Linked DNA regions of Homo sapiens: region 2 is linked to region 1. The links are contacts of gene promoters, found by promoter capture Hi-C in blood cells and fetal thymus (Javierre and others, 2016). All regions are on one chromosome and are shown on one strand. The core of a region is centred on a gene start or on the middle of the fragment in contact, and the rest is flanking DNA. Distances in the headings are between cores, read along the strand shown. Region 1 holds the start of ABLIM3 (actin binding LIM protein family member 3). Region 2 overlaps ABLIM3 (actin binding LIM protein family member 3).

What was found. Contacts are between HindIII fragments. The CHiCAGO score rates a contact against its expected background, and 5 or more counts as called.
Region 2: a fragment that was not itself captured here is called in contact with the fragment with the promoter of ABLIM3 in region 1 in 2 of 17 cell types (naive CD4 T cells and naive CD8 T cells); the score reaches 7.2 in naive CD4 T cells.

What each region holds. Positions count from the first base shown.
Region 1 is chr5:149,138,485-149,145,302 of GRCh38, forward strand. ABLIM3 (actin binding LIM protein family member 3) reads left to right here and starts at 3,009. Exons shown (of 24, transcript NM_014945.5): 1 at 3,009-3,170; 2 at 3,525-3,624. The coding sequence starts at 3,612. It overlaps LOC124901102 (a long non-coding RNA gene), which reads left to right and starts at 3,632. Exons shown (of 2, transcript XR_007058988.1): 1 at 3,632-4,305; 2 at 4,949-5,114. RefSeq lists a silencer at 2,875-3,124 and enhancers at 3,430-3,931, 3,932-4,431. The HindIII fragment of the contact is 6,101 bases long and covers 2,711-6,818 here.
Region 2 is chr5:149,236,835-149,243,651 of GRCh38, forward strand. It overlaps ABLIM3 (actin binding LIM protein family member 3), which reads left to right. Exons shown (of 24, transcript NM_014945.5): 11 at 614-769; 12 at 2,414-2,443; 13 at 2,925-3,054; 14 at 3,842-3,940; 15 at 5,657-5,704. Among named protein-coding and RNA genes, the nearest start is that of AFAP1L1, 32 kb to the right of the region's middle. The HindIII fragment of the contact is 3,276 bases long and covers 3,650-6,817 here.

The DNA.
Region 1 (6,818 bases), core at 1,759-4,258:
CAAGGGCATAGCTTGTATAGCTTATTTTAGCCCCTTTTTTCCTATCCTTATAAACTATGCAGAGAAAATAAGATTGTTCCCCCGGCAGATGTTATTTGGGCCTTAAAAAGTGGCCCAAGACCCAGTGATCTCTTCTAAGAGGTGAAGTCATCAGCATCTAGCTGGATACATTATCGAAAAGAACCCCAGACAAGAAGAATTCATCAATTAATCTCATTAATTGATGAATAATTAATTCATTAATTCATCAATTAATTTATCAATTAATTAATCACCTGAAAATTTTCAGGCATATTTTCGTGGCCACCACTCTGTGGAAAAGCCCAACAGATTTCCATAAGTAGAAAATGACAGCATTGTCACTGAGGGCAGGTATAAGTGAGGGGTGATATTAATAATTAGTATGCAACCAGCCTTTATTTGTCATGCATTACACTAAGTCCTTTAATATATACGACAATCCAAAAGGTAGGCACTGTGGTTGTACCCTTGTACAGATGAAAACTTTGAGGCTTATAGAGGCTAAGTATCTTCCCCAAAGTGAGACAGCTAGAAAGTGATGAAGCTGAGATTAAAAGTCAGGAAGGCTGGAAACGGCACCTGGGCTCTTCCCCAGGCCACCATCGGGTTTAGCTAATTTATATTTTGCTTAGTTAATTGTCTCCCCGCTGTCCCAGGATTGGATTTATGCTTATGAGGTTGGAGTTCTTTTTATTTCTTTATTTTTTATTTTTTCTGCAATCATCCATTATTGGGTAGAGCTCTTGTCTGTCCTGTTCTCCACGGTATCCCCAGAAGCCAGCACTGGGGCTACCACAAAGCATACCCTCGATAAATAATTGCTGAGTGAATGAACTAATGAATGAATATCATGCTTTCATTTGACTATTTCTTATAATTTGAAATTTTCTGAACATTGAGGCCTTGGGTGATAACTAAATATGCTCATGGAATAGAACAGTTAATTTTACATGTCTAATTTATCTGAACTTTCTCCCAGAAAAATGTTTTTCCAAGCATTAGAATCTAGCAAGTTACCTGCAACTTGGAAACTGAACAAGGAATCCCATCTGAAAATGTAGAGGACACATAAAGTGGAATAATTTAAATATTTACTAATCACTTACGTTTTCAAAGCTATTTTAGGCCTCTACCCTTTTCAAAGAGCTGTCTATGAATCACCTGGGATGCTTGTTTCAAATGCTGAGCAAGGGAGTCCAGGGCCTGGGAATCTGCATTTTTGGAGGTATCTCAGGCGTTTGTTATCGACACAAAATTTTAAGAACGACCGTGAGGACATTAGGGCTATTTTTACCTCCACCCCATTGGACAAAATTCTTTTTTAAAAAATTATTATTATACTTTAAGTTCTAGGGTACATGTGCACAACGTGCAGGTTTGTTACCTAGGTATACATGTGCCATGTTGGTTTGCTGCACCCATCAACTCATCATTTACATTAGGTATTTCTCCTAATGCTATCCCTCCCCCAGTCCCCTATCCCACAACAAGCCCCAGTGTGTGATGTTCCCCTCCCTGTGTCCATGTGCTCTTATTGTTCAACTCCCACTTATGAGTGAGAACATGTGGACAAAATTCTTAACAATCTATCAAATGTGTTTCAAATCTATTGATCCTTAGGTTTATCCAAAGATTCTTTAATCCTGATCACCTCTCGGGGTCATGAGCCATATCCTTTTTTTCCTCCCTGTGTAAGGTAGAAACGTTGTATTTATCTAAAAGCATTGTATAAAAACATCGTATTTGTCTTTCCCCAATTTTAATAGGGCAGCTATCTAATCTCACACTGATATCCCAGACTTTAGTGCACTGAGCCACTCTCACACAGGATCAAGCTAGAAGTGAGAAGATCTGGTCCGATTCTGCCACAAGATGCTGTGTGTCTTAGGGCACGTTGCCCAGCCTCTCTGACACCCTGTTTCCTTGTCTAAGCTGGGGCTGTGAGTGTTCACAGCCTTTTGAGTCTGCACATGCTCTAATTGAAGTCATGCTATAGACAAGGATCATGTGCCCTCACAGTCTTGTTTTTCAGCACTCAAAAGTCATGCTTCTATGATCATGAATTAGGTTCAGAAAGTGACAGAGTAAGTAGTCACAGGAATGTAAAGAGCCCTACCCCACTGAATCAATTGTGACTAAAACACTTTGGAATATAAACTTCTACAATACACACGTATAAGACATAATTACAAAAAAAAAAAAAAAAACAACAACAACTTGGGGGAAGAGTTAGTTGACCATATGAAAACTAGGGTGGACCTGTGAGGCCACATACCTGCTGTTCTCCTCAGACGGGGAAGTGTTTCAGGGTGGGGCGCCTAGGCAGTCTACTCTTAGGGCTGTGTAATATTAAACCCAGAAAATGTCTGGGTTGCTCTGTCAACAAATATTTATTGGTAGCCACTATATGCCGGGCCCTGTGCTAGGTATTGGGGGCCTGTAGGTGAACCCTACGGACAGACCCATTCTTTCACGGAGCTAACATTCTCGTGGGGAAAAGAGGTAATAAACAATTCTAATGATGAATCAGCGATAGAGGATAAAGGGAATCTGTGAGGGAAGAGGGGACATAAACGCTGGGAGGCTGGAAGAGCCCCTTACGTGTTATCCACTTGTCCAGACGCCATATTCATAGTTGAGAAAGATGAGGCAGAGACGGTAGTGACCGGCTTGAGCCTAGACTGCGCCAAGCTTGCCAGAGCAGAGCCGGGTGGAAACTGTCTTCCTGCAAAGCCAGGTTTTCCTTCACGGCCCCTCCTAATGATGTTTCTTTTCCTATCATTGTCGAGCCCTTAGAACCCCAGGATCGAGGGAGGGAAAACAAGCGCTCAAGCACTCCCTCGTTGGTCCCAGGACACAAGGCCTCGTCCATCTCACAAGGCCTCGTCCATCTCCCATCACACCCTAGGGCCCAGGCAGAAGCCCGGCGGGGCGGGGCCTCGGACACGCGCCGGTGCGTCCAGCAGGTGGCAGCAGCGAGCGGCCGCGCCCCCTGCGCTGCCAACCCGCGAGCCCGCATCATGGATGTCGAGCTCCCCTATTTCGCATTGCTAGCCCTGGAATTCGAGACCCCAGACGAGGACCAGGATTCATGAAATCAGTCGCAGGGGCCGGGGCAGGGGCCTCTGGCTCCCGACACTGGCCGAGAGGTGGGTTCCGGGGCGGGTCGCTGCTCCTTGAAGCCGGGCGGGGACGCGCTGCCCCCGCCCTGCCTCCCTGTGGTCCACACCCCCTTTGGGCTCCGGAGCCGCTGGGCAGGAATAGTCCGGGGTGCGCGCGAGCAGGCGCTGCCAACCCCACTTCTGCCCGGGATTCCAATCTGAGGAGCAGGAGGACCGGGGCGCCGGTGTCCTGCCGCCTCCTTCTCCTTGCTCTCACCTGCGCCTATTAGTCCACGCGCCTTCAAGGCCAGGGGCTACAGCCCAGACAGAGAGGGGACAGCAGAGGGAGAGAGAGCACCTGAGGATACAGAGCTGGCACTGGACTGCCTTTTCACCCCCCAGGTGATGAGTGAGGTTCGAAGAACGGAAGATTTAAAAAGCAGCCGGGGCCTCCGTATTGAATGAAAGACCCAGTGCAAAGACATCACCATGAACACTAGCAGTAAGTGGATCCTCCTCTCCTTTGCCATGGGAACAGGGGTGGGGGCGGGAGGTGAGGGAGCCTGCGCTCGGGCTGCCTGGAAAGAGGAAGGAAGCCTGGCATCTCTGGACACATGACCCCCAGGCTCTTTTTTGGTGCTTTCCGTGCTCCTTGGCAGAGGGATAGCTTCATGACTCTGGCTTTTCGTGATAATTTTGCCAATATTTTATCAGCGGCGCCGGCCGCCTCTCCTGGGAAGGCTGCTCGTCTCCTTCTAGCACTGCCTGGGAAGGCCTAGGAAGCAGTGTGTGGCCATTGTCTGACTGTGGGGGCTCTGAGGAGAACTCCCTGCACACATCTGGAAAACCATGGAGGGCCCTGCCTGTCCCAGAGGTGGGAAGAGCAGGGAGGCTGGCCTGTGGGCAGGCGGGAGGGTAGGTGGGTGTGGGCAGGCAGTGGGCTGGGAAGCCGCAGTTTGATAAACAAATAATCGCCAAGCCACCTTTGGGTCTGGAGATTGTGAAAGATCCAGCTCCCGAGTGCCTGCAGCCCGGTGGGCCCAGGGCTGGTTTCTCTATGTACCTGCAGGCTGGTTAGCTATCCTTGAGAACAAGAAGACAGGAACAGCCCTTTGGCCAAGGGCTCTAACATGCCAGAGGCAACAACTGCTTGCAGAGCCAGGACCAGATATTTTGCTGCCAGGTAGGGCCTCAGCTACTGAGAATGCAGTCCGAAATTCAAGAAGGCACAGTCTGTTTCTCTTCAATGTAGCGCTGTGACCTGGGAGGGCATATCTTGGTTCCAGACTCACTCTCCTGCCCTCTTGTCAGCTTGGCCTGTCTAGGTTATTCCAGCATCGCATAGGGCTGTTGAACCAGAGAACCCCTATGAACAGTCACTTCCCTGGGTCTATGACTTTGTTATCAGTCCCCTCTCTGCATCTCAGACTGCTCATCTGTATGATGAGAGGGGTTGAATTAGAAAGCCTTCTAATCGGCCAGGCACCGTGTTCCATGCCTGTAATCCCAGCACTTTGGGAGGCAGAGGCAGGTGGATCACGAGGTCAGGAGTTCGAGACCAGCCTGACCAACATGATGAAACCCCGTCTCTACTAAAAACACAAAAATTAGCCAGGTGTGGTGGTGTGGGCCTGTAATCCCAGCTACTCAAGAGGCTGAGGCAGGAGAATTGCTTGAACCTGGGAGGCAGAGGTTGCAGTGAGCCGAGATCACACCACTGCACTCCAGCCTGGGCGACAGAGTGAGACTCTGTCTCAAAAAATAATAATAATAATAATAAAAGAAAGCCTTCTAATCTAAGAATCTACACTTTTTTTCTTAAAAAGCTAGAGCTGAGCAACAAGGCCAGAACTATCAAGACCTTATTGAAGCTGTATCCAGCCAAAACCTACTATTTCCTCACACACCCCACCCCACCCCCACCTCCTAGCATGGAAGAGAAAAAAAAAAGCAAAAGCTACTGAGATGAAAATAAAATATATTTATTTACTACGTATTTGTATGATTCATCTCTCTGCTGTCTTCCTTTGTGTATTGCATATCTATGCTAAGCTAGCGAGTGTGGCTGGACTCCCTCTGCCTCTTACAGCCAAAGAATTTTGCCTTTTGATTTTGACAGGCTGGAATGGTGTTTTGGCTTCATACCAGGCTCAGGAAAAGAGGAAAATCCTGTAGCCTCTATCAGCTAGTGGGTCACATGTTTGCATTTGCATGTTTTCAGGCAAATAAAGATGTGAGTTGCCTGTCACTTCTCACTATCTCTAGGAAAAAAAAATGTATTTATGAGAGTCCTTTCCCACTAAGTGACAGAAAAGAAAGATGGCTCATCTATTTTTCAAGGAACTAAGAAAAGAAACAGGCAACTGACTCTGCCCTTTTCTCTCTCTGGAATGCTAAGGAACTCTTGTCCTATTAGTAACACTGAGTATTCCTGAAAGAAGGAAACAGACTATCCTTCTTTTAAGAAAAAGAAAGAAAGAAAAGAAAAAAGAATCAATAGAGTTGGATACTGCAGAATATGAGGACTGGCAAAAATGCCACTACTTTTTATAAGCAGGGAGAGTGTGTGAATTTTGCAGTAATGGAAAATGAACAGAGGAGAATGGCTCAGCAGCCTTGGAAGCCCTCCGGGTTCCCCCCAGGAGGAAGTGCTTCTCTAAACAGACACCTGGGGGACACAGCAAGCACAGAGCTTTGAGGGCTTAACTCCATCATCATGGAGGTACCTCCCAAACCCACGAGTCTGCAAATGCAGAGAGTAGACATCAGACCTCACAAGAAAAGGAGTAACAGAGCCATAGGGTGATATGGATAGGGCATTGGCAGGAGGTCCTTGGGTCACCTGACTAAGCAAAAAAGCTCCCCTTTGAGATGTGAAATTCTTAACTTGATCCTCATGCCTGATATTGTCCCTAATAGAAACTCTTGCTTAGTTTTTCTTTCACTTCTATTTATTTAGTCCTTATTCTCCACCAGCCACCATGCTAAGCACTCCCCTGATTGAGCTCACCAGACTGTCCCACCCAACCTGTGAGATGGGTGTTTTTACTCATTTTATGGGTGAAAATTTGAAGCTGTGTTCAGAAACGTTGTAGTTAATGCTCAGTGGCTTCTTCAAGTCATGCAGTTAATTGTTGGGTTATGAAAGGTACTTGGATGTGTAACACATTTGACACTGAGTACAACTCCTAATCAATGATTCAAATGTCAACACTGAAATAGAGGCAAAGCATGAGATTACAATCATCCCTTTGTACACATGGGGATTGGTAAAACTGTGCATACTAAGTCCTGCAGTCAGCCCTGTGGAACCTGCTTATACAAAGAGTCAGCCCTCAGTGTAGGCAGGTTTCAAATTCTGCAAATACTGTATTTTTTTAAATTTCAACTTTTATTTTAGATTCAGAAGGTACATGTGCAGGTTTTGTTACATGGGTATATTGCATGATGCTGAGCTTTGAGATACACTTGATTCCATGACCCAGGTACTGAGCATAGTACCCAATAGTTAGTTTTTCAACTCTTGCTCTCCTCCCTCCCTTCCCCCTCTAGTAGTGCCCAGTGTCTATTTTTGCCATCTTTATGTCCATGAGTACTTAATGTTTAGCTCCCACTTATAAGTGAGAATATGCAGTATTTGGTTTTATGTTCCTGAATTAATTTGCTTAGGATAATGCCTTACAGTTGCATCTATGT
Region 2 (6,817 bases), core at 4,038-6,537, 100 kb after region 1:
ATAATGTTGGTGCCTACTACTAGAGTTGTGAGTTGTATGGATGAACTGGGTTAATCTATATAAGGGACTTGGTACAGAGCCTGGCTTATAATAAGTACTCACCAAATGTTAGCTAGTGTTTTACTATCATGATTATTTTTGTCTTTACCATCTTCATCTTCTTCTTCAAGGATGCTGTGAATTGGGATGTCCTCACTCTGTGGGATCGGAAGGCAGTCAGTACCCAGGCTGTGTAGTTCAGGCTGAATTCAAATCTATTAGCTTAGTGGTGCAAACTGTATAACCTTTTGAGCCTCCATTTCCTCAGCTAGAAAATAGAAATGATATTGACATTTACTTCACAGAGGCATTACAACATCTAGAGGATATAATTATTATAAAGCACAGGGCTTACAAACAATATGTGCTCAATAAATGTTAGCCCTGTTGGAATGGATGGCCTCTAAGACCACTTTTATTCTAACATTCTACTATTCTTCAATTTGATCCTAATCTGTTTGTGGTGGAAACTGGAGAAGTTTGTTCCTTCTGTATCTTGTTTTTGTTTCCTCTCTCCATTCCCTTTTCCCTCTTATCTTTCTATTCCTTTCCTGTCCATTTCCCTCTTCCCTAGGCTAAAGTGGATAATGAGATCCTTAATTACAAAGACCTGGCGGCTCTCCCCAAGGTTAAGTCTATCTACGAGGTACAACGCCCCGACCTCATTTCCTATGAGCCTCATTCCAGATACATGTCCGACGAGATGCTGGAGAGATGTGGCTATGGAGAGGTATCGCATCTTGCCCTTCTCTCTGGGGCTATTGTAGGAAAGGAGATTGCTCTGGGGTCCCCAGCCCTCTCCATCACAGACAGTTTGGCCTCCACAATGCTGGCTCCCAGACTCTTCTACACTGGGATTTATGGCCAACGTTTTTTAAATGAAGAGATTTCATTTGGCTTTCTGGCTCTTCTTGAAAAATCAGAGCCGACAACCTTAAACCTACATTTCCACCATCTGGAGATGGGAAGCAGCACCCCCTATAGACAGGACATGAGCTTTCCATTCCCCCCAGTCCCCCGACTCCCTGTTAATCCCAGCATTGAAGCTAAGAGCCTGTGACCACTTATTACTCAAGCTGTTGTATTTCTTATACTGTAGGAATTTTTCATGTACTCAGCCCAAGGCGCTCATCTCCTGCCAGGCTCAGTGGCCATTTAGATTTATAATCCCTGATTATAACATGTCTAATCAGACATGTTCTCTGGTTTTCCCACCTGGCCTTTAGCCCCAGTGTCTCTTCAAAGGAAGAGACGCTTTTATAAAGACTCAGTAACAGATAGCTTTTGAAATCATTAAATGGTTGCTAAACAAGAGAAAGTGTTTTCTGGAGATGGCAGCAGGGTTGGGGGCAGAATTACCCTGGAGGTCCTGGCAGTCTATATCCTAGAAGATTTCTAACCTTATCCCAGACCCCTTGAGTTAATTTGAGGCAGCAGAAGCCTGTCCTGGTGGGCAGGGACCCAGGTTCTTGTCCCAGCTCCACCATAACTAGCCTCATAACCTCAGGCAAGTTCCCTTCCTCCCTAAGGGATTTGGGTTCCATTTGGTTGAAGAGCCCAGTGCTGAGATTCTCTGGTTTCCGGCCCCTGAAATGCACCAGGAGAGGAGGATCAAGTGTTTAGTAGAAGCCGCTTGTCCTTCAGTTAGAGATGGCAAACCAGGGCCCACAGGTTGCAGCCAGCCCTCAGATTTGTTTTGTTTCACTCACAAAGTGTCTTTTGAAAATGCAAACTAGTTGTCAACAAGTAAACACTGGGAGATTTCATGTAAGAATCTGCACTTCTGTCTTTCTTGGAAAATTAAGATGCTGTGTAAATGCTGGGCAGGCATTCCAGCTGCTGGAGCTGAGGAACTGCTGCCCTCTTCAGTCGAGACATCCCATCTCCAGCTGCTGCACCAGCCACCAGCTCAACTCCCTTGTTGGTGGCCCCAGCCTGGCCCCTGCTTAGCCAGGGTGCTGGCTGCTGGGTGCCCTGCCCTGGGCATCGTCCTCATGAACTGTAGAGGGGTCATGAACCAGTAGAGAGACAAGGAAAGGGTGGTGACAATAGCCCTGAGCATGCAGCACAGAAGCCTGGGTCCAAGTCAAGTCCCTGCCACTTCTGCCCTGAGTGGCCGTGAGCCTTCGTATTCTCTCTCTGGGCCTTGGTTTTTCCCTTCCTAAAAGGCGGGCATAATCTCGAGGTTTCCTGCCTCCTGTCAGTAGTCTGACCCTCTGGAATTCCCAGCGAGGCTGTTATCTGGAGAGGGGTACAAAGGAACTGCTGCAAACCCTCTCTGCCGAGCCATCTAACCATGCTCTGTCCTTCGTCTCGTCCTCCTCTCATTCCTTCTGCTCGTTCCACAACTGCCTTCAAACTCTTCACTTCTAAGTCGCTGGGAACATTATCTCCCTACTCCCAGGTAATTCAGCTGATAGAGAATTAAGTTGATATATAATTGTGCCCCTTTATGTGGACTTCACCCATCCCCAGCCCCCCGAAGGTGTCTGAGCCCTTGCCCAAGGTATTCCCTGCAAGCAGGGAAGTGCTGGAGAGACTCGGGTGCATGTCCTGGAGGAAGTGGTAGTGGCATACAGGATGGAAATCTGCCCTTCCTGCCCAGAGATGGCCTCCCTCAGGCTTCTGGGATCCCTGGTCAGGATTCCAGGGATTGACCCCATAGATTCCATTCAAGGGCCTGCAAGTAATGGGGGAAAGCCCTGGAAATTCTCTGCCATCTTCCTCGGGCTGTGTGTGTAACTCAGGGAGGAGGGGGGTCTCTGTATTCACACCTCAAACCCGAGAATCCCAGATTCCATGTCATGCCCACCTGCCTGCTAGACCCTCGGGCCACAGGCCCACTTAACAGCCAGCCATGCTCACAGCCCCATTTCCTCTCCCAGGACATCTACGAGAACCTGGACCTCCGGCAGAGACGGGCCTCCAGCCCGGGGTACATAGACTCCCCCACCTACAGCCGGCAGGGCATGTCCCCCACCTTCTCCCGCTCACCTCACCACTACTACCGCTCTGGTAAGGAAGGGGGAGGACCTGAAGGGAGAGGAAGAGCCAGGGAGACAATGCAGTCACTTGGGGTCCCTGCTGCAGAGGGCACAAGGCTCCCCCATGATCTCCATCACAGTGTGGCCCTCTGGAGGCCTATGGCCACCCAGGTGACCAGCTGGGCCTCTCTGAGTCCCTGAGATGGCAGGGGGGATGGAGGAGTGTGTGGCACTGAGAAGCAGCAGGAAGGTGGGTGGTGAACTTCCAGGAGAGGGGGCTGGCAGGTGGCCCTGTGGCCCTGGTGGAAGAAGACTCCACCATCCTCGTGGCCTGCCCCATCCGGAGGGCAGAACCAAGAGACCAGAAATATGGCTATGAACTGGCCTTCACCCAAGGGCCACCCCAGCCAATCCAGTCAGACCATCCACAGTCACCCTCAGGTTGGGGGTGATGCCAGCACTTGGATGGAGGAAAGGAGCAATTAAGGGAGCGTCCAAAAGGGGGAGGTTCAAGGATGGTTGGGGAGATAAGAGGTTCAAACTAACATGCCTTCCTGGAGCTCAGTAGAGTTGATCTTTACATCTCACAAAATCTGACTTTGGGATCAAGCCAGGAAGCAAAGTCAAGCTTGTTTCTGCCAACGTGGTGCATGAGAGCACATGCTGCTTCCGCCCCGGAACCTGAGCACGCTGAGACGCCCCAGCCCATCCCCCATCTCTGCTGTCATCACCTCACCACTTCCTAAACTGCCACCGCGTTAATGCCTGTTTTCTCTGTGCCTCTGTTTTCTTTGGCGACCACTTCCTGCGTGCTCCAGGGCCCGAGAGTGGCCGGAGCTCTCCATACCATAGCCAGTTAGATGTGAGGTCCTCCACTCCAACCTCTTACCAGGCTCCCAAGCACTTTCACATCCCAGGTAGGCACTGCCAGCCCAGAATTCCTGGGATGGATGCATGCTCCATGGGGTCACAGGTGCCTGAGTCACCCCCTCGATGCCACACAGGCACCAAGAAGCTGGTTCCTGAGGGACCTCCCTAACCAAGCACCTGCACCAACCCTGTCCTCCAACCCCAACACACCCACGGGCTTCAGATTATCCACTTGACAGAACCAGCCTCCATTAGGACCTCAAAGAAGCAGTCCCGGGAAGAAAAGAGGCAGGGAGCTCGAGTGAGATACCGTGAGTGCTTGAGGGCTGTGAGGGGCGCAGCAGGGGCACACAGCGGTGAAGGCTACACACTTTGGCTTCAAAGCTCTTGGGATGGAATCCGATGCAGCTGCTTATAAGCTCATGACTGTGAGCCAGTTACTTGGCTTCCCAAGCCACTGTTATTCCTTCTGTACAGCTAAGCACTGTTCTGGGCTCAGAGGTTGCAACTGTGCTCAACCCAGCCCAGATCCTGCCTTCATGGTATTTGGTATTTACGTACTAATGTAGGAAGAGAGATAAAAATGAGTAAACAAATAGGTAGAGGATAATTTCAGGTAGCCATAGGTGCCATAAACATAAATAAAACAGGCCATCCTGAGAGATGATGAGGCTGAGAGAGGCCAGGCTAGATGGGGCGGTCAGGAAGAGCTTCTTGGAGGAGGTAACATTAAAGCTGAAAGATGAGAAGGGGCCTGGCGTGGTCGCTCACGCCTGTAATCCCAGCACTTTGGGAGGCCGAGGCGTGTGGGTCATGAGATCAGGAGTTCGAGACCAACCTGTCCAACATGGTGAAACGCTGTCTCTACTAAAAATATAAAAATTAGCTGGGCATGGTGGCTTGTACCTGTAATTCCAGCTACTCAGGAGGCTGAGGCAGGAGAATTACTTGAACCTGGGAGGCGGAGGTTGCAGTGAGCCAAGATCGTGCCACTGCATTCCAGCCTGGGTGACAAAGTGAGACTCTGTCTCAAAAAGAAAAAAAGATGAAGAGCCAGCCTATGAAGAAGCCAAGGAAAGACATCCCAGGCAGAGGGAAGAGCACTATCATGTCATGTGACCGCAGGTCATGACAGGAATTGAGAGGAAGACAGGGGCTACAGGACTGAGTGGGTGTAGTTTGGACAAGGTCTCCCTCTGAGTCACAGCAGAGCCAGGGCTGAACCTCAGTCTCCTGACACCAAGCTCAGTTTTTCACTCCCCACTCACGTTCCCCTCAAGAGCTCATGCTGCTGTTTCATCTACACCTTCCTCAGCTGCCCTAGAGGGGTCCCATCCTGTCTGTCTTTGAGGGAGGGGGAGGGAGGTAAGCTGAAATTCGGCTGCAGCATCCTGGGAATTTTCACATGGAATGAGGTGTGGCCACTGGTGGAGGCAGTGGACACCTTCCTGCATGGGGCTCTGCTGAGCACACACACCCCTGTGCCTGCATGCTCACCCTTCAAGCCCCAGGTCTCTTCCTCGGCACCACTTGGATCCATCCATTCCTCTTCCCGCACCTTACTTGGAACCTGTTGGGACGAGGTTGAAAGTTCAACTTTGGAAGAGGAAGTCACCAGGGGAAAAAGATGGTGGCCCCTTGGAAAAAGTTGTTGCCCATCTCTCTCTTCTGAGATCAACTGACCAAGTACTATCTCCTTTTCTCCCTTTTCTCCTGTCTCTCTCTCTCCCCTCCCCACTGTCCCTTCCTGGTCTGTCTGGCAGCTGGAGACAGTAACATCTACCGGAAACCCCCGATCTACAAACGGCATGGTATGGTCAGAGGTAGATAGGGCTTGGCCACACAAGGAGAGGGGGGAGGTTAACCATCTATGCAGATGGCCCTGCACAGGCCACCAGGAGCCACAAAACACAAGGCTGCATCTTGGTCCTTCTTGTTGACTGCCCCATCACCCAGGGTGACATTAGGGCAGAGTTTGGTATCATTTCAAAAGAACAAAGTCCTCATGTCCCCTCAGTTCTTTCCCACCACCTTTGCAATCTCCCCCTTACCTGCTCTCTGTCATCCTAAGTTCCATAATTGGTAAAACCTTTGTAAAACGCACATGCCCCTGGGAGAGTCACACTCCAAGGCATTAATACTTGAAATGTTCATTAGAATAACAGGGGATGCATACAGATTCCTGGGCCCCACCCCAGGCTTACTGAATTCGAATTCTGTATGTGTCACGGTTTCTCCAAGTGATTCTGATACTCAGCCCAACTTGGGAACCCCTGCTGTAAGTTGTTCTCAGTCACAGTCTCCTGAGAGTGGATGGAGACTTGCAGAGGAGATGTAGATGAGTAAGGTTGCAGAGGGTGACTTCCTTCTTTCATTCATTCATTGATTTAGTGTTTCTTAAAGAATGATCTATGGACCATCTGCACCTGAGAGACATTTAAAAGGCAGATTCCCTGGCCCCTTCCTTGCCCCAGACTCCCTTAATTATAAATATTGAGAGTGTGAACTAAGAATCTGCACTATAACTGGCTTTGTCCATGATTCCTCCCTGCACTTAGTATGAGAACCACCAAGTCATTCATCACTGACACCACCTGTTCACTTTTGCAAAAAGTACTTACTAAGCCTCGATTGAAGGAGCACATCCCTTCCATTGAAGCTGCAGAGGAGCAGCTGCCACCCTGTGCACCCACACTTGCTTAAGGGTCTAGCTGGATAACAAAAGGAGGCCCAGAATCGGTGGAGCTTGGAGATGAGCGAAGCAGTCCTGCACCAGGTTCTGAACTAATTAGCTGGTGGAGGGGACAATACGAGTTTAAACAGCGGCTCTGGGTGCCTAAGATTCTACATTTTATACAGACATCCTTGGTTCCAGAGGGGGCTGAGCAGGGGGGTCCGAGGTGAGTCTGTGAGCATGTGCAAGT